6 separate regions of the Homo sapiens genome follow, and regions 1, 2, 3, 4 and 6 are each linked to region 5. Evidence: promoter capture Hi-C in 16 types of primary human blood cells and fetal thymus (Javierre and others, 2016). All regions are on one chromosome and are shown on one strand. The core of a region is centred on a gene start or on the middle of the fragment in contact, and the rest is flanking DNA. Distances in the headings are between cores, read along the strand shown.

Region 1 (2,700 bases), core at 6-2,505, 330 kb before region 5:
TCAAGTGATTCTCCTGCCTCAGCCTCCTGAGTAGCTAGGATTACAGGTGTGCGTCACTACAGCTGGCTAATTTTTGTGTTTTTAGTAGAGACGGGGTTTCACCATGTTGGTCAGGCTGGTCTCGAACTCCTGACCTCAGGTGATCTGCCTGTCTTGGCCTCCTAAAGTGCTAGGATTACTGGCATAAGCCACTGCACCCAGTGGTGAGTACCCACTATGAATAATATTTCTTAGTACATTTTTTCTTTACTTTGTACATTTCTATATGGTTGTAATTCTTTTTTTTTTTTTTTTTGAGACAGTGTTGCTCTGTCGCACAGGCTGGAGTACAGTGGCGCGATCTCTAAATCTCGGCTCACTGCAACCTCTGCCTCCCGGGTTCAAGTGATTCTCCTGCCTCAGCCTTCCTGAATAGCTGGGATTACAGGCATACGCCACCACACCCGGCTAATTTTGTATTTTTAGTAAAGACAGGGTTTCTCCATGTTGGTCAGGCTGGTCTGGAACTCCCGACCTCAGATTATCTGCCCACCTCGGCCTCCCAAAGTGGTGGGATTACAGGCATGAGCCACTGCGCCCGGCCAATTTGGCTTTTATTTTAAAATACCTTTAGCGTAGAACTGTCATAGGACAGAAAATAAAAAAATACACAGAAATGGAACATTTCAAGTACCTAGACATAAAAATTAATAGGATAGCATAGACCCAAGTTATGGGAAACTGTCTCTAAAATTCAATTCATTAAACACAAGTTGAAAGAAAAGTTCTTTTCCCAATGTACCACTATTGTCCTACTTGCCTTGATTTCCTTTAATTCCTAAGTAAAGGGTAAATTTAGTTGCTTTACTTAAAATTATCAGCTTCAGTTTTAGCAAAAATTACCATGCCCTTAAATTCTCAACCAGAGTTATAAAAAATAGCAGCTCAGGTAGTTATGCTGCCCTAAACAATTTATTGCAACATGTATTGGCAAATATTTCTATGTATGTCAATTTTTTTCATTTGCTCTTTTCATTTTTTTGTTATAATGATGTATAAATGTGCCATTAAAAAGCCTCTAAATGTTCTGCTTCTTCCATTTAGCTAAGGAAGGAAAGATGATATCATGCCCATTTTATAAACAAAGAAGCCAAGCCTAACTTGCCCAATTTCTTATAGTTTTCAGTTTCCTATGTATGAGAGTTGGTGCTTGCAATGATCCTTTTCTCATCATTCCAAAAAGATGAACAAAACTGAATTATTCAGATTTTATTCTTGTCCATTACAGATATGGGGAAAGGGAAAATAACTTTACTCCCAAAAAATCTTTTAAAATTCATAGATCTCTTTATTAATTTTCAAGTGTTTGGATGCTTAAAGAAGATTATTTGAAGACGGCTTTTGGAATCAATTAGCATGGACCCCAGCAGTGACTACCATTTCCTCAGCCAGATTTTGTGGAAGAGGGTGAAACTCACATTGGTCTGTGGTGTCTTCGAGGGTGTGCTTCAGCATGTTGACCCTAATAAGATTGTTGTCCTGAAGAAAGGTCTTGTTCTATTTCTTATAATGTTCTGCCTTTTAAGAGATTAGTGATTGACTTTCAGTGGGCTCCATTAGTGATTGGGAGGGTGGCATTATTCCTATTTTAGGTAAAGTGTGGGAGGAAGGTTAGAATATTGTTTTCCCAAACAGAACAATGTGACTGAATATGCTGGTTTGTCCCTACTTTTTTTTTTTGAGATGGAGTCTCGCTCTGTTGCCCAGGCTGGAGTGCAGTGGCGTGATCATGGCTCACTGCAAGCTCTGCCTCCCGGGTTCACACCATTCTCCTGCCTCAGCCTCCCGAGTAGCTGGGACTACAGACACCCGCCACCACTCCCAGCAAATTTTTTGTATTTTTAGTAGAGACAGGGTTTCACCGTGTTAGCCAGGATGGTCTCGATCTCCTGACCTCGTGATCCGCCTGCCTTGGCCTCCCAAAGTTCTGCGATTACAGGTGTGAGCCACCATGCCGAGCCTGGTGTGTCCCTGCTTTTGATATGATAGCAGGAATTTTCAATATAAAAAGGTTTTTTTTGTTTTGTTTTGTTTTGTTTTGTTTTTTGAGATGTTGTCTTGCTCCATCCCCCAGGCTGGAGTGCAGTGGCGTGATAGCTCACCGCAACCTCCGCCTCCCAAGTTCAAGTGATTCTCCTGCCTCAGCCTCCCGAGTGGCTGGAATTACGGGCACACACCACCATGCCTATCTAATTTTTGTATTTTTAGTACAAAAAATACAAAAACACAGCCTGTTGGCCAGGCTGGTCTCAAACTCCGGACCTCAGGTGATCCACCCACCTCGGTCCCCCAAAGTGCTGGGATTATAGGCATGAGCCACCGCTCCCGGCCTTTTTTTTTTTTTCTGAGAATGAGTCTCGTTCTTGTTGCCCAGGCTAGAGTGCAGTGGCGCGATCTTGGCTCACTGCAACCTCTGCCTCCCAGGTTCAAGCAAGTCTCCTGCCTCAGCCTCCCAAGTAGCTGGGGTTACAGGCACCCATCACCAAGTCTGGCTAATTTTTGTATTTTTAGTAGTGGCAGAGTTTCACTGTGTTGGCCAGGCCGGTCTCAAAGTCCTGACTTCAGTTGATCCGCCCACCTTGGCCTCCCAAAGTGCTGGGATTACAGGCTTGAGCCACTATGCTGGCCCTTTAATTTCTTTCCATATGCATTTGAAATTAA
Region 2 (2,734 bases), core at 91-2,590, 370 kb before region 5:
TAGTAACTTTTCTATGCTTTTCAGATAACTGTATTAGTATCCTGCCTTTTTTTTTAACTTTTAAGCATTTCTCCAATCAATATAAATACTTTGAAACATTTAAAACATATGCATAATTCTGTGGACACATCATGATTTTATTATTCCCTCATAATTGGATAATTTTTCTCTAAATAATCTTTTAGGCCAGGCACAGTGGCTCACGTCTATAATCCCAGCACTTCAAGAGGCCAAGGTGGGTGGATCACCTGAGGTCAGGAGTTCAAGACCAGCCTGGCCAACATGGTGAAACCCCGTCTCTACTAAAAATACAAAAATTAGCTGGGCCTGGTGGTGCATGCCTGTAATCCCAGCTACTTGAGAGCCTGAGGCAGGAGAATCACTTGAACCCCAAAGATGGAGGGTGCAATGAGTCGAGACTGCACCACTGCACTCCAGCCTGGGTGACAGAGGGAGACTCCATCTCAAAAAAAAAAAAAAAAAAGTTTTGAAAGACCTCTTGTGTATAAAGCCTTTTTGGTACTTAAGCTTGGAGAAAATCTTTTCATTGTGCCACAGGCTAATCAATAACCCTGTAAGAAATAATTCTCAAAACTTGAATGAAGAATGTTCTTTAATATTAAAAAAGAATGCCCCATGTAACATAATATAATTTATTTATCTAAGGCAGATGGCCTGGTTCCTGTGGTTACCTAAAAAAAAAAAAAACCCCAGCCTTTCTGTGCCCCACCGAATAGCTGAGGTATGTAGGTTCTCTTCTGTGCTCTATAGACATGCAGTTCATAGCCCTTCTAAAGGCAGAGTTCAAAGGCTAGCCTGTGAGCCATCTGTACTCAAAAGAATGACCTTGGCTGGGTGCAGTGGCTCACGCCCATAATCCCAGCACTCTGGGAGGCCGGGGCGGGCGGATCACCTGAGGTCAAGAGTTCAAAACCAGCCTGGCCAACGTGGTGAAACCTTAGCCAGGCGTGGTGGCGTGAGCCTGTAGTCCCAGCTACTTGGGGAGGCTGAGGCAGGAGAATCACTCGAACCCAGGAGGCAGAGGTTGCGGTGAGCCAAGATCACACCACTGCATGCCAGCCTGGGAGACAGAGGGAGACTCCGTCTCAAAAAAACAAAAAACAAAACAAAAGAATGACCTTTTAGTTCTTCGATGTATCTATACTGCTAATGGACCAGTATCTGGTCAAAAATGTCAGATCTGAGGAATCAAGTAATGTGGAGTAAAGTTTAAAACATATGCTAGAAAAAACACATTAATGATTATTGCTAGCATAAAGTTTCTGGGTAAAAGGGAATTGAATAACCATGGTCCACTTTCAAATCTCATTCTTTAAAAAAAAAAAAAAAAAAGCCCCAATGTGCATATGCCTAGGGAAGAAAGAAAAACCCAGAAGCCAAATATATCTATCTGATTAGAGCAAGAAGCAGAGTCGCAGCTTGCTAAGAGCTAAGCAGTGCAGCCCAGTAGAGCCCTCCACTTCCTCATATGCACTCTGTCCCATTTCCTTAGCAGTAGATTGGTGGACAGAATGACAGGTGATATTGTAGTCACAGCAAATGTAGTTTAGTCTTACAAAACAGCTTCCCACAAGCTGCTTCTTCAAGTAATCAATGGTGACTAAGGAATTCTGAAAAAAAGTTGGCAAAGTGACTCTCCTGGGTTTACTTTTCATTGCAAAAGGTTTGGATACAAAGCATAGCTGTGAAAGTTATCTCTGGATAGGGTTCAATGCTTTGCAGGGGTAAAAGAGGAATTAGAAAAAAGGAAGAATTCAGCATAAAAACCACACCTGAAACAAACAGGGCAGTTCAAGGAGAGAGAAAGGAAAAAATGAAAGAGGGCATAAGATTCCTCATAGTCAACGTGATTTGATTCCCATCTTTACATGAACTAACTGCCCGACCTAATTCCCCTTCTGACTTTCACTCACATTTCCTGAATGCCCAACCCTCTCAACTAGCAAATTCCTTTGCTCTCAATTTAGAGTTCTAAAATTTCCTCTCCAGGCATTTTATCTGACAGTGTCCTCATTGACAGTCTCATTATTAAAAACTGGCACCCATATAATATTTTGAAGTCCTGTGGGTCATAGACTATCCATATAAACCAGGAATAGATTGTTTAGGAAATTACTTAAAACAAGCTTATATGTAAGTTTTATTGTTGAAAAGGTACCTAATCAAATCAGTAAATATTTACTCACTACTGTGAAGGCAGTGTATTAGGTAGTAAAGCATATCAAAAGACTAGTTTCATGTTAGAAAAACCCACATTAAGAACAATCTACTTGACAAAGCATATGTGGTGAGAACTATGTTTATTCAATATCACGAAAGTAAAATAAAGGCTGGGGAAATGTTCCAGATTAAAGGAGGCTAAAGAGACATGACAACTGACCCAGACTAGATCCTGTACTGGAGGCGGGGAAGTGCTATAAAACAGATTATTGGATGACAAAATTGGAATATGAATATAAATTAGAATAAACTGGATAATATGTTAATAAAACAGAGTAATAGATTAGATAAGAGGATTGTATCAATGTTAAGTTTACTGAAGTAGATAACTATACTATGGATATGTAAAAGAATGTCCCTATTCTTAGCAAACACACACTGGTGCATTCAGAGGTAAAGGGTCATTACTATGCAACTTACCCTGAAATAGTTCAGAAATACAATTATGTGAACACACATACACAAAAAAATTACATAAGTATGTGTATATACA
Region 3 (2,721 bases), core at 133-2,632, 430 kb before region 5:
TAATCCCAGCACTTTTGGGAGGCCATGACAGGCAGATCACCAGAGGTCGGGAGTTCGAGACCAGCCTGACCAAAATGGAGAAACCCTGTCTCTACTAAAAATACAAAATTAGCCGGGCATGGTGGCACATGCCTGTAATCCCAGCTAGGCTGTAATCCCAGGAGGCTGAGGAGGGAGAATCGCTTGAACCCGGGAGGTGGAGGTTGTGGTGAGCCGAGTTCACGCCATTGCACTCCAGCCTGGGCAACGAGAGCGAAACTCTGTCTTAAAAAAAAAAATTGATTACATGGTGAAATGACATTTTTGATATATTGGGTTAAATAAAATATTTAAAAACTAATTTCACCTGTTTTTATTTTATTTTTTAAAGCAAAATTAGGCCAGGCGCCGTGGCTGATGCATGTAATCCCAGCACTTTGGGAGGCCAAGGCGGATGGATCACGAGGTCAGGAGTTCAAGACCAGCCTAGCCAAGATAGTGAAACTGTTTCTACTAGAAATACAAAAATTAGCTGGGCGTGGTGGCGGGCGCCTGTAATCCCAGCTACTTGGGAGACTGAGGCAGAGAATTGCTTGAATCTGGTAGGCGGGGGTTGCAGTGAGCCAAGATCATCCCACTGTACTCCAGCCTGGGCAACAGAGCGAGACTCTTCCTCAAAAAAAAAAGCAAAATGAATAGAAAATTTAAAATTACATATGTGACTCACATTATATTCCTATTAGACAATGCTTGTTTAGATGCTTTGTAAAAAACTGGAGGAAGGCCAGGTGCAGTGGCTTACACCTATAATCCCAGCACTTTGGGAGGCCAAGGCAGGCAGATCACAAGGTCGGGAGTTCGGGACCAGCCTGGCCAGTATGGTGAAACCACGTCTCTACTAAAAGTACAAAAATTAGGGGGGCGAGGTGGCAAGCGCCTATAGTCCCAGCTACTTGGGAGGCTGAGGCAGGAGAATGGCTTGAACCTGGGAAGCAGAGGTTGCAGTGAGCCAAGATCGCACCACTACACTCCAGCCTGGACGACAGATCGAGACTCCGTCTGAAAAAAAAAAAAAAAAAAAACTAGAGGGAAAGCCCCATGTGTTTCTGTATTTGTGGAGTAAGATGAGCTATATGGGACTTACGAAGAGGGTTATGAAATGGCACAGCTCAAGACAACTTGATTTTTTTCTAAGTGTAGGTTCATTACCTAGATGGGGTCAGAGAATGAATTAAGAGGATGATTAATGATGCAGCTAAAAGAGCATAAATTTTAGAGACAGCAGACTCGGGTTCTTTTTATTCTTTTTTTTTTTTTTTTTTTTTTTTTTTTGAGATGGAGTCTTGCTCTGACCCAGGCTGGAGCACAGTGGCGGGATCTTGGCTCGCTGCAACCTCCGCCTCCCGGGTTCAAGCTATTCTCCTACCTCAGCCTCCCGAGTAGCTGGGATTCCAGGCGCACGCCACTATGCCTGGCTAATTTTTGTATTTTTATATTTTTAGTAGAGACGGGGTTTCACCATGTTGGCCATGCTGGTCTCGAACTTCTGACCTTGTGATCCACCTGCCTCAGCCTCCCAAAGTGCTGGGATTACAGGTGTGAGCCACCGCACCAGGCCTTAACTTTACTCTTAATGAGGCATGTGAAATAAATTGATCCCTCTCAATCTGTCATATTTGAATACTCCTAAAATATACTCCCTCCGACATTTATTTAAACATTCTACAATTGGCATGAACCTCTTAGATTCAAAGTCATAAAGTAGACAGATACAAGGTTACTTCCGTCTACATTTTATTGTTCTCTTACTGGTAGAGGATTTATTGTAACTAATTTTAAAAAGGATTATTATAGTATGTTGACACTTAGAAATAGCTTTTTTACCCTGAGCTTTTGTTGTGCTCAACAGCATATTTAAATGGAATTTTGTTTGTATTATAAGTGAAGTACATTTTTTTCTAATTGTTATGGCAAATTCAAACCCGAGAGAAGAATATAATGAACCTCTGTCTACCTGTCACTAAACTAGAGCACTTATCAACTCTTGGCCAATCTTGTTTCATCTAAAATCATAGTTGGCTTATCATGCTGGCTCACGCCTGTAATCCCAACACTTTTGGAGGCCAAGGTGGGAGGATCACTTGAACCCAGGAGTTCAAGACCATCATGAGCAACATAGCGAGACTTCATCTCTAAAACAAAACAAAATATCTATCCTCCACAATGTTTTGAAGCAGATACCTGAAATTACATCATTCCATCCATAAATATTTTGGTAAGGATCTTTATAAGAAACTTTTTTCTATTTATTTATTTTTTGAGATGGAGTCTGGCTCTTTTACCCAGGATGGAGAACAACCTCCGCCTCCCAGGCTCAAGCCATCCTTTCACCTCAGCCTCCCAAGTAGCTAGGACTATAAGGCATGCACCACCATGCCCAGCTAATTTGTTGTAGAGATAGGGTTTCAACATGTTGCCCAGGCTGGTTTTGAACTCCTGAACTCAAGTGATCTGCCCACCTTTGCTTCCCAAAGTGCTGGCATTACAAGCATGAGCCACTGCACTCAGCCTTTCTTTTCAATTATTTTATTTTATTTTTTATTTTTTTGAGATGGAGTCTTGCTCTGTAGCCCAGGCTGAAGTGCAGTGGCAGGATCTTGGCTCACTGCAAACTCCGCCTCCCGGGTTCAAGTGATTCCCCTGCCTCAGCCTCCCGAGTAACTGGGACTACAGGTGCATGCC
Region 4 (2,700 bases), core at 81-2,580, 300 kb after region 5:
TCATTAATACTACCATTCCAAACATTTTAATTCAATTTACATGTATTTATCATCTTGTAAAGATTTCCAGCCATTCGCAAAGTCAAGAATTATACTGCTTTGACCCTAACCTTTAATTACCAAAATTTTACCACATATTAACTCCCATCTGTAAATCATCTCTCCAACCAACGTCCACCTCAAATGCGGTCTTCTCCACAAATCCATCACCAAAAGCATCAAATAAGCTCTCCCTTTTCCGTGCTCCCACACCACTTTAGAATGTCCTATAATCTTTTACATTCTGTCTTGTATTCTAGTTATTTGTGTATATTAGTTATTTCCCTTTGTAAACCCCTCTAGGTTTGGGAATCATCTGTCCCCGGCCCTATCACAGGATAAGGAACCCAATAAATATCTACAGGATTCGACGGAAGTGAAAACATCAATTTTAATATCTAGACTGGAATAAGCTTCTGCTTTGGTCTTCATCCACATCCTTTATCTGTTAATGCCTATTAAACCTATCTGTAAAATTCCAATCGGCAATACTTTTTCCTCCCTCAAACTTGAGTATTTAAATAAACGTGAAGAATAAGGGCTTAAATCCTGAGGAATAATGAACAGAAGAGGATTTTTAAAAACTAATTTGCGCAGTACTAATATTGACTTCATTTGTTAAGGTTATTATACTTGCAGAAAACGAAAAATCTGTTACGTGCGGCCAGCACTCCGAGCAGACACCTTAAACCACGAAGAGCTGAGAATTTTAAAATCACTCATTGCTGTCACTTCATTTAGAGCCAAAAAAAGCTTAAGTGAGAAATACAAACAGCCGAGAGGTCCCTAGGGAAGAGCGGCAGGGGTGCAAGAAGAGTCCGCGAGCCCTGACAGAGGACGGCAGGGCGGGGCGGAAGAGGACGCCAAGAGAGCGACGGACAAGCAACCCGAGCCGGGTGGCCGGAGGGGCCGAGGTGCAGGCGGAGAAGTGTTAGGGAAGCGGGAGGCGGCACAACGTACAGGCCGAGGAGGGGAAAAAGGGCACAGTGTGCCCGGCCCGGGGCAGGGGCGTCTACTCGGCCCGGCGCTAACGGAGGCCGCCAGGCTGAGGGAGCGTACCCTACCTCCCACCGCAGGAACTTCAGGGCGCCCAGACAAAACCCGAAGCCTTCCCTGAAGCCCAGAACGAAAGAGTCATTCTCTTTACCTGCCGCGGCAAACCTCCTCGACAAATTTTGCGCAGACTTGTTTGGGGTCCACACGCTCTGAGTTTCCTTAGAGCGGAAACAGACAGCCGCCTCTAGCAGTCCGCTCACAACGCCCGGCTCGCCTCAGTGAAGTATTCAAATCTAACCGCCTAGGTGATGCGCACGCGCAAAGCGGCTCTACGCGTCGGCTCCGCCCCTTAGGTTCCAGACCAACCCTATTTCTAAGACTCCTTTAGGGAAACTACTTTCCCAGACTCCGTGCCAATTTTATTTCCTTCAGCTTTATCTCTTTTTCGACCGAATTTCCTCTGCCCCTCCCCAGTGGAGACCTCCCCCACAATCGTGGGAGCGGCCATCTTCTTTCGATTGCTTGCTATGGAAGTGATTGGACTTTGGCTTCCGTACAAAATGGCGGCTTCCATAACATTGCGTCACAGCCCCTTGATATTACTCCCTATAGCAATCAGGAAACAGTAACTTACCGGGACGAGGTGGCCGAGTGGTTAAGGCGATGGACTGCTAATCCATTGTGCTCTGCACGCGTGGGTTCGAATCCCATCCTCGTCGATGTGGTGGCTTACTTTTGCTTGTAACCAAAGTAAATTTGCAGAGCAGAATAAATTTTTTAATAACCAAAGTAAATTTGCAGAGCAGAATAAATTTTTTAATAACCAAAGTAAATTTGCAGAGCGGAAAAACTTGAATACTTATTATTTATTACTCAATTAATCTGGCACCATCAGTTTCAGGCCTGAAATGTTGAAATACAGTATTTGGAACGTTCTGACATCACAGATAAAGAAAAGGGAGGGAAAGAGACTTTCCAGGAATCAGAAATCATGCTGGATTTAATTTCTTTTTATATGGAGTTAACAACAGTGAATAGAATTCCACAATTATTACCATCCCATATGTTCCAATGCTGCTCTGTTCCAACTTTAACACAGCTCCTAACTGAGGAGTTTCAATTATTGTAGACTGTTACTCTGGGGTTTTTAACACCTGTCCTGATTATGAGATACCAGGTTTCACTTCAAAAGCTACCATGAGACACTTTATCCGGTATTTATTATCTACAGGCACCACATGTTTTACATGAATTACATCACTATAACCCTTGATCATGACAAATATTTTTATTACTCCATTTTACAGATGAGGAGACTGAAAGATTAGCTTGCCCGAGGTTATACAGCTTCTAAATTGAAGAAAGGAGAGTGTAACCCAAATCTACTAGACGCTGGCTTAATCACCCTTCTAATCTGTGCTGTAGATTAATAATTAGTATTTATCAATCCTACACTGTGCTGTAGATTAATAATCAGTATTTATCAATCTTTTGCAGTCATGGTTTACAGATTGTCTCCTCCACAAGGCTGTCTGCATTGCACCATGCTCCACAACACGGCCTCTGGCAGGTGCTTCAGCAAGGTTTGGGCACTGAGTATGGAAAGCAGTGGCCCCATTCTCTGCTGGCTCCAGTGGCTTCTTTCTGTTACAGATCCAAATCCGT
Region 5 (2,700 bases), core at 20-2,519:
TCTTTGAACCCTTAAGATGCTGTCACAGCATGATATACCTGCTCCCACTGGTAATGGGGCTGCGTGGAGGTGGGACGGGACTGGTGGTCTGGGTATTCTCCCTTATCAGGTCTTTGGCCCAGCAATCCCAGCTTAACTGAAGTAGTATAGCCCCATTCTCTGCCCCCCTCCCTGCCCATGCGGTAATGAGCCTCAGTGTAGAGTTGGCAAGTGCTGGGATATTTTGAGCATTGAATGAAGGTAAAGACTAGAGTGAAAGCAGCTCCAATTCGTTAACTCCACTCACTGGAACAGTTCCCCAGGGCTCCCTATGCCCTCATTCTCCTGGAGACTCACTACTTTCTACAAAAACGTCCCCAAACTCCAGGCTGCACCCAGCTATAGCCAAGGCCAAAAAGATTTCATCTCCATTTTCCCCGTTCAGCGACAAAATTCCCTCTGGGACCCTCCCTTCTTCCTCTGCAATACTCCGCCTTCACCACTTTCTTTGTCCATTCCTTCCCTCCCACCTCCAGAAGGGGCCTGGTGGGAAAAGCATCAGCAGAAGCCGGGAGCCCATTCTAAGTTCTCCCAACAGCCCAACTGCGCCCTGTAGGTGAGTAATTCCTTATCTGGGCCCCAATTCCCTCTCAAAAGGACCCTAGCGGTAGAGCCTAGATCACGCGGCAGCTCCCGTTGCTCTTTCAAACTTCGACTATCCACCAGCTGGGGGCCAAGAGAGCCTGAGGAGAATCAGGGGCCTAGACCCGGAAGGCACGGCCCAGGGGATGACCCCGAGCTCTTGGAGCTGCCCTCCTCGCTGCTCCCACGCAAATGCTAGGAGAGCCGAAAGGGGCAGCGGCACCCTCCTCTTCCTTACCCGAGTGGGGGATGCCCACGCTAGGGCAGCCGGGCTGCAAGACGGCCGAGCGGGACAGCGAGTTCTCGTACTCATCCAGGATGGACGCCATGGTGCCCGGCCTCTGGGCTCTTTGTCCGGGGCCTGGGGATTACAAAAGGGCTACCCCCCCGGGGTCCCCGTCGCCCCAGAATGGAAGCTGTAACTCCCCAGCCTCTGACAGATCCTGGGAACCTGCAGCCGTCGCCTCCTCTTTAAAATCCTGAGGATCCTCTTGCTCTTGCCTTATGCAGCGAGATAATCGGGCAGCCCTCGTCCTTGAATCTGGCGCAGTCTTGCACCTTACTCCCCGCCCCCGCTACAAAAAAATCACAGGCTCCCTTCAGCCGGTGCCAGGTGATCCCAACCTCGCCCCGGCAGCTCAGCTGACTCCCGCCCCCGTGACGCGGGCCTAAAACGTAACTTCCGGGTTCTCAGAGCCCCGCGTACGCTGGCGCACAACGTCGCCGGGCCAGCCAGCAGAAGGCGAGACGAGGGCTGAGGGCTGGGCGCGTGGCGAGTGCTGCTGAACACAAGCCCCGCCCCCAGGATCCTGCTGCAGTTCCGAGCTTTGACACCAGGAGGCAATCCCGGCTTTCTCAGCCGGCCTTCCCCACCCGCCCCGCGCCGCCCAGTTTTGGCTTTCGTGCCCAAGCTCCGCTCCCTCGGGTGGTCTGTCCAGCCTCCCTGACCAGCTCCCGCTCCCGCCTCTCTAAACAGCCTCGGGGAACCTCCCGTTCCTCAATCCAATCGCTGTCTCTATCCCACCGTCACAGGGCACACGCAGACAACTCCTGGCCACTCTTCTCCCTTACCCAAAGGCCCCCCAGCTTCCAGGAGACCGCAGAGCTGGTGGCCAGGCTAGTGGGAAGCCCTGTGCCAGGAACCGCCCTGACCTGCCCCACAGTGGCTCCTTGGCTCAGGGTTGCTGGGCCGCTTCCATTCACTCATTCACCAAAATGTGGTTGAGCACTTACTCTGTGCCAGGCCTTGGGCTGGGCGCTGGGGTCACAGAGATGAGGACAGCCCCTCCCCGCCCTGGAAAAGGTCGTAAGCCAGCAGGGGCGCTGGACCCGTAAATAGACCATTCATACTAGAAAAGCAAGTGATGGATTATCCATCAGGCACTTACTCCACGAATGAGCGTCCACTCTGTGCCAAGCACTGTTCCAGGCTCTGGGGACGTGGCAGAGAACAAGACGGAAAATGTCTCTTGCCTGGTGGGGCGTACCCAGCGACGTGGCCACGGCACTGAGAGCGTGAAGGAGCAGGGAACAAATACCTGCCAAGCCTAGCAAGAACGAGGGACAAGTGGGAGCAAGCGTGAAGGCGGGGGCCGCCCAGCCTGAGGTGGAGAGGGGAGTCCTCAGCCAGGGACCTGCGAGGGCTGGGGCGCGACTGTGGTTGGGTTTTCCTCTCTCACCTGCTTAGGCGACCCAGATGGAGTCTGTTCCCTTCTGGGGCCCTTGGATTCTACCTTGCTAAAGTGGAAGGCTCTGGACTAGGGTCGCCACCGTCCTGGCTCTGCTGGGCGGCCCCCGCCTAACAACTAAGAGCATCCCTTTGCTCTCAGAAGTTTCCAGGTTTGCACCATACCTTATGTGGTTGGGTTACTCTTGCTCAACTTCCTGGCCACGTGCGGAGAACTGTGACTCTCACCAGCCCCACTGAGGGCTATCTGGGCTCTCTGGCTTGGAGGGGCACTAGTCCTGGGGCAGGTGACAAGTATGCTGTCCAGGCTCATTTCCCTTCGCACCAGGGTCCTGCTTCTCTTGACCAAGCCTGCAGCCTCAATGCAGCCTTCCCACCTGAGGTTGCCAGGT
Region 6 (2,723 bases), core at 75-2,574, 460 kb before region 5:
CACAATGTGACTCCATCTAAAAAAAATAAATAAAATTACAAATACAAATATTAGCTGGGTGTGGTGGTGGGCACCTGTAATCCCAACTACTTGGGAGGCTGAGGCAAAATAATCTGCTGCATCCGGGAAGCAGAGGTTCCAGTGAGGCAAGATCGCACCATTGCACTCCAGCCTGGGTGACAGAGTGAGACTGAGTCTCAAAAAAAAAAAAAGTTTGACAAACAGTGCCTTCAAATGTGGTAACAGTGAGGATGGGAGCAATGGCTCATGCATGTAATACCAGCACTTTGGGAGGTGGGTTGATCACCTGAGGTCAGGAGTTCAAGACCAGCCTGGCCAACATGGTGAAAACCCGTCTCTACTAAAAATAAAAAAATTAGCTGGGTGTGGTGGTGGGCGCCTGTAATCTCAGCTACTGGGGAGGCTAAAGGCAGGAAAATCACTTGAATCAGGGAGGCAGAGGTTGCAGTGAGCTGAGACTGTACCATTGCCCTCCAGTCTGGGCAACAAGAGCGAAACTCTGTCTCAAAAAAAAAAAAGAAAAGAAAAGAAAAAAAATGGTTGTAACAGTGGTTTTACATCGTTAAAATGAATGTTTATTATTTCAATTAAGCTTCTCACCAAGAAGCTTAAGTACTTAAATTATTTACAATTTATCACCCAGTGAGTTTTCCTCTTGGCCCTAGCTGCCAGAAAACTTAAACTCAGCTGAGTGACTGATGGTAGTAAATACTGTACCTACTAACAGTGCTAATTTTCTGCCGCTTTTAAATTGACTATACTATTTTATATTTAATACCATAAACTTACATTATTTTGAGAATAGGCCTTAAATTCTTTTTGAGAAATAGGGAAGTTATGTAAAATAAACATGGGGTTAAGAATTAAATACAGCGAATAGAAATAAATATAATCTGGTGGCTCACACCTGTAATCCCAGCACTTTGGGAGGCTGAGGTGGGAGGATCACTTGAGCCTAGGCGTTCAAGGAGAGCCTGGGAATCATAGGGAGACCCTGTCTTTATGAGAAAAATACATAAATCCATAAATATTTAAAAATGTGTTTCCTGCCCTCCATTCGGCACTGCCTTAACACCAGATACCAATAACATCAACTTGCTAGAATGTTACTCACTACTTTGCTAACTCAGCCTCAGAGTTGACTTTATCACCTTCTCTTACTTGAGGAGGCTTTGAGTCCTGTGGAACCTGGACTGAAAGCCCTCGAGGGAGCTGTTACCACAGGAACCCTTCAGGTTTGCCACTATTAATCACCCATTTTCCTTTACATAAGGGACGAGGGAAAGAAGATGGCTTCAGCCATAAGTTGGTTCATCATCAATGAAAGTAATAGGCAAAACATCTGAATATGGAAAGTAGAATGACATTGCCATTTTGGAAATAGTTTCTCATAGTCAGGATTCACTGTTTTCTTTTTTTTTGAGACGGAGTCTCACTCTGTCACCCAGGCTGGAGTGCAGTGGCGCGATCTCAGCTCACTGCAATGTTGGCCTCCTGGTTCAAGTGATTCTCCTGCCTCAGCCTCCTGAGTAGATGGGATTACAGCCATGTGCCACCCCCTACTAATTTTCTGTATTTTTTGTAGAGACAGGGTTTCACCATGTTGCCCAGGCTGGCCTTGAACTCCTGACCTGAGGTAATCCACTTGCCTTGGCCTCCCAAAGTGCGGGGATTACAGGCATGAGCCACTGCGCTTGGCCATGGATTCACTGTTTTATCTAGAGGACTTTGAAAATTCTCAGGGTAGGGGAAAGCAAGTTTTAGATAAAGATATATTAAATTCAAACAAATCTACTGGTAGAGTGACAGCCAGTTGTTGTAACCACGGTGTTATATAGTTTCAAAATTATAATCAAACAGTTTAGTTCCATTAAGAACATAATTTTATCTACATACCTTCAGTTCATTCATGGAATTGTGTTCTTCAAAATGTTTCTTTTTTCTCTCAATATATTGATCAATGGACTCCATTTCCTTAAAATGAGCTTCATGAAGCTTCTTAAAGTCTAGAATGTTCCAATATAAAAATTAATAACAAAACAAAATCCATTTATTTATCTTCTCTGTGTTTTTCTGTTAACACTTATTCTCTTCTTTGCATCCCTGACATTCAACTTCAATATAATTTTTGCTAAAACATTAATTTCAAAATACTTAGTTTTTGGAAACTCAGGGGCAAAGCACATTCATCTTATAAACTATCAAACATTCACCATCTCCCCACTGACAAATTTCACTAAATTGACATCTTGGTTTAATCCAGAGGATTAGAGTAGAAGATTTATCTTCTCCCCTACCAATTAGTCACAAGTGGTCTTTATTTAATAATGAATTTGATATTTTATAATGCTGTATGTCAAGGACTGACAAATTTATTCTATAAAGGGCTAGATAAAAGTATTTAAGACTTGGCTGGTCATGGTGGCTCAACACCTGTAATCTCAGCACTTTGGGAAGCCAAAGCGGTCAGATCACCTGAGGTCAGGAGTTCGAGACCAGCCTGACCAACATGGAGAAACCCCATCTCTACTAAAAATACAAAAATTAGCCAGGTGTGGTGGCGCACGCCTGTAATCCCAGCTACTCGGGACACTGAGGCAGGAGAATCGCTTGAACCCGGGAGGTGGAGGTTGCAGTGAGCCTAGATTGCGCCATTGCACTCCAGCCTGGGCAACAAGAGCAAAACTTCGTCTCAAAAAAAA

Evidence for each region. Contacts are between HindIII fragments. The CHiCAGO score rates a contact against its expected background, and 5 or more counts as called.
Region 1: a contact is called between a fragment that was not itself captured here and the fragment with the promoter of VPS18 in region 5, in 11 of 17 cell types (endothelial precursors, erythroblasts, megakaryocytes and 8 more). The highest score is 7.7, in endothelial precursors.
Region 2: a contact is called between a fragment that was not itself captured here and the fragment with the promoter of VPS18 in region 5, in 2 of 17 cell types (erythroblasts and monocytes). The highest score is 5.3, in erythroblasts.
Region 3: a contact is called between a fragment that was not itself captured here and the fragment with the promoter of VPS18 in region 5, in 5 of 17 cell types (total B cells, fetal thymus, naive CD4 T cells and 2 more). The highest score is 7.2, in total B cells.
Region 4: a contact is called between the fragment with the promoter of KNL1 here and the fragment with the promoter of VPS18 in region 5, in 1 of 17 cell types (M2 macrophages). The highest score is 6.3, in M2 macrophages.
Region 6: a contact is called between a fragment that was not itself captured here and the fragment with the promoter of VPS18 in region 5, in 1 of 17 cell types (endothelial precursors). The highest score is 7.0, in endothelial precursors.

What each region holds. Positions count from the first base shown.
Region 1 is chr15:41,225,271-41,227,970 of GRCh38, reverse strand. It overlaps EXD1 (exonuclease 3'-5' domain containing 1), which reads left to right. Exons shown (of 12, transcript NM_001286441.2): 2 at 1,343-1,528. The coding sequence starts at 1,396. Among named protein-coding and RNA genes, the nearest start is that of EXD1, 4.1 kb to the left of the region's middle. The HindIII fragment of the contact is 4,426 bases long and covers 1-2,700 here.
Region 2 is chr15:41,258,145-41,260,878 of GRCh38, reverse strand. The region is part of intron 3 of CHP1 (calcineurin like EF-hand protein 1); the gene reads right to left. Among named protein-coding and RNA genes, the nearest start is that of OIP5-AS1, 23 kb to the left of the region's middle. The HindIII fragment of the contact is 1,619 bases long and covers 531-2,149 here.
Region 3 is chr15:41,327,654-41,330,374 of GRCh38, reverse strand. The region is part of intron 2 of OIP5 (Opa interacting protein 5); the gene reads left to right. Among named protein-coding and RNA genes, the nearest start is that of OIP5, 3.6 kb to the left of the region's middle. The HindIII fragment of the contact is 6,952 bases long and covers 1-2,721 here.
Region 4 is chr15:40,592,879-40,595,578 of GRCh38, reverse strand. It overlaps KNL1 (kinetochore scaffold 1), which reads right to left and starts at 1,330. Exons shown (of 26, transcript NM_144508.5): 1 at 1,187-1,330. It overlaps TRS-GCT4-2 (tRNA-Ser (anticodon GCT) 4-2), which reads left to right and starts at 1,673; the gene lies at 1,673-1,754. RefSeq lists enhancers at 851-1,170, 1,391-1,610 and a silencer at 1,731-1,780. The HindIII fragment of the contact is 4,787 bases long and covers 795-2,700 here.
Region 5 is chr15:40,893,019-40,895,718 of GRCh38, reverse strand. It overlaps VPS18 (VPS18 core subunit of CORVET and HOPS complexes), which reads right to left and starts at 1,269. Exons shown (of 5, transcript NM_020857.3): 1 at 860-1,269. The coding sequence starts at 950. RefSeq lists an enhancer at 454-543 and a silencer at 1,384-1,553. The HindIII fragment of the contact is 16,460 bases long and covers 1-2,700 here.
Region 6 is chr15:41,357,453-41,360,175 of GRCh38, reverse strand. NUSAP1 (nucleolar and spindle associated protein 1) reads right to left here. Exons shown (of 11, transcript NM_016359.5): 6 at 1,918-2,027. Among named protein-coding and RNA genes, the nearest start is that of NUSAP1, 26 kb to the right of the region's middle. The HindIII fragment of the contact is 1,388 bases long and covers 631-2,018 here.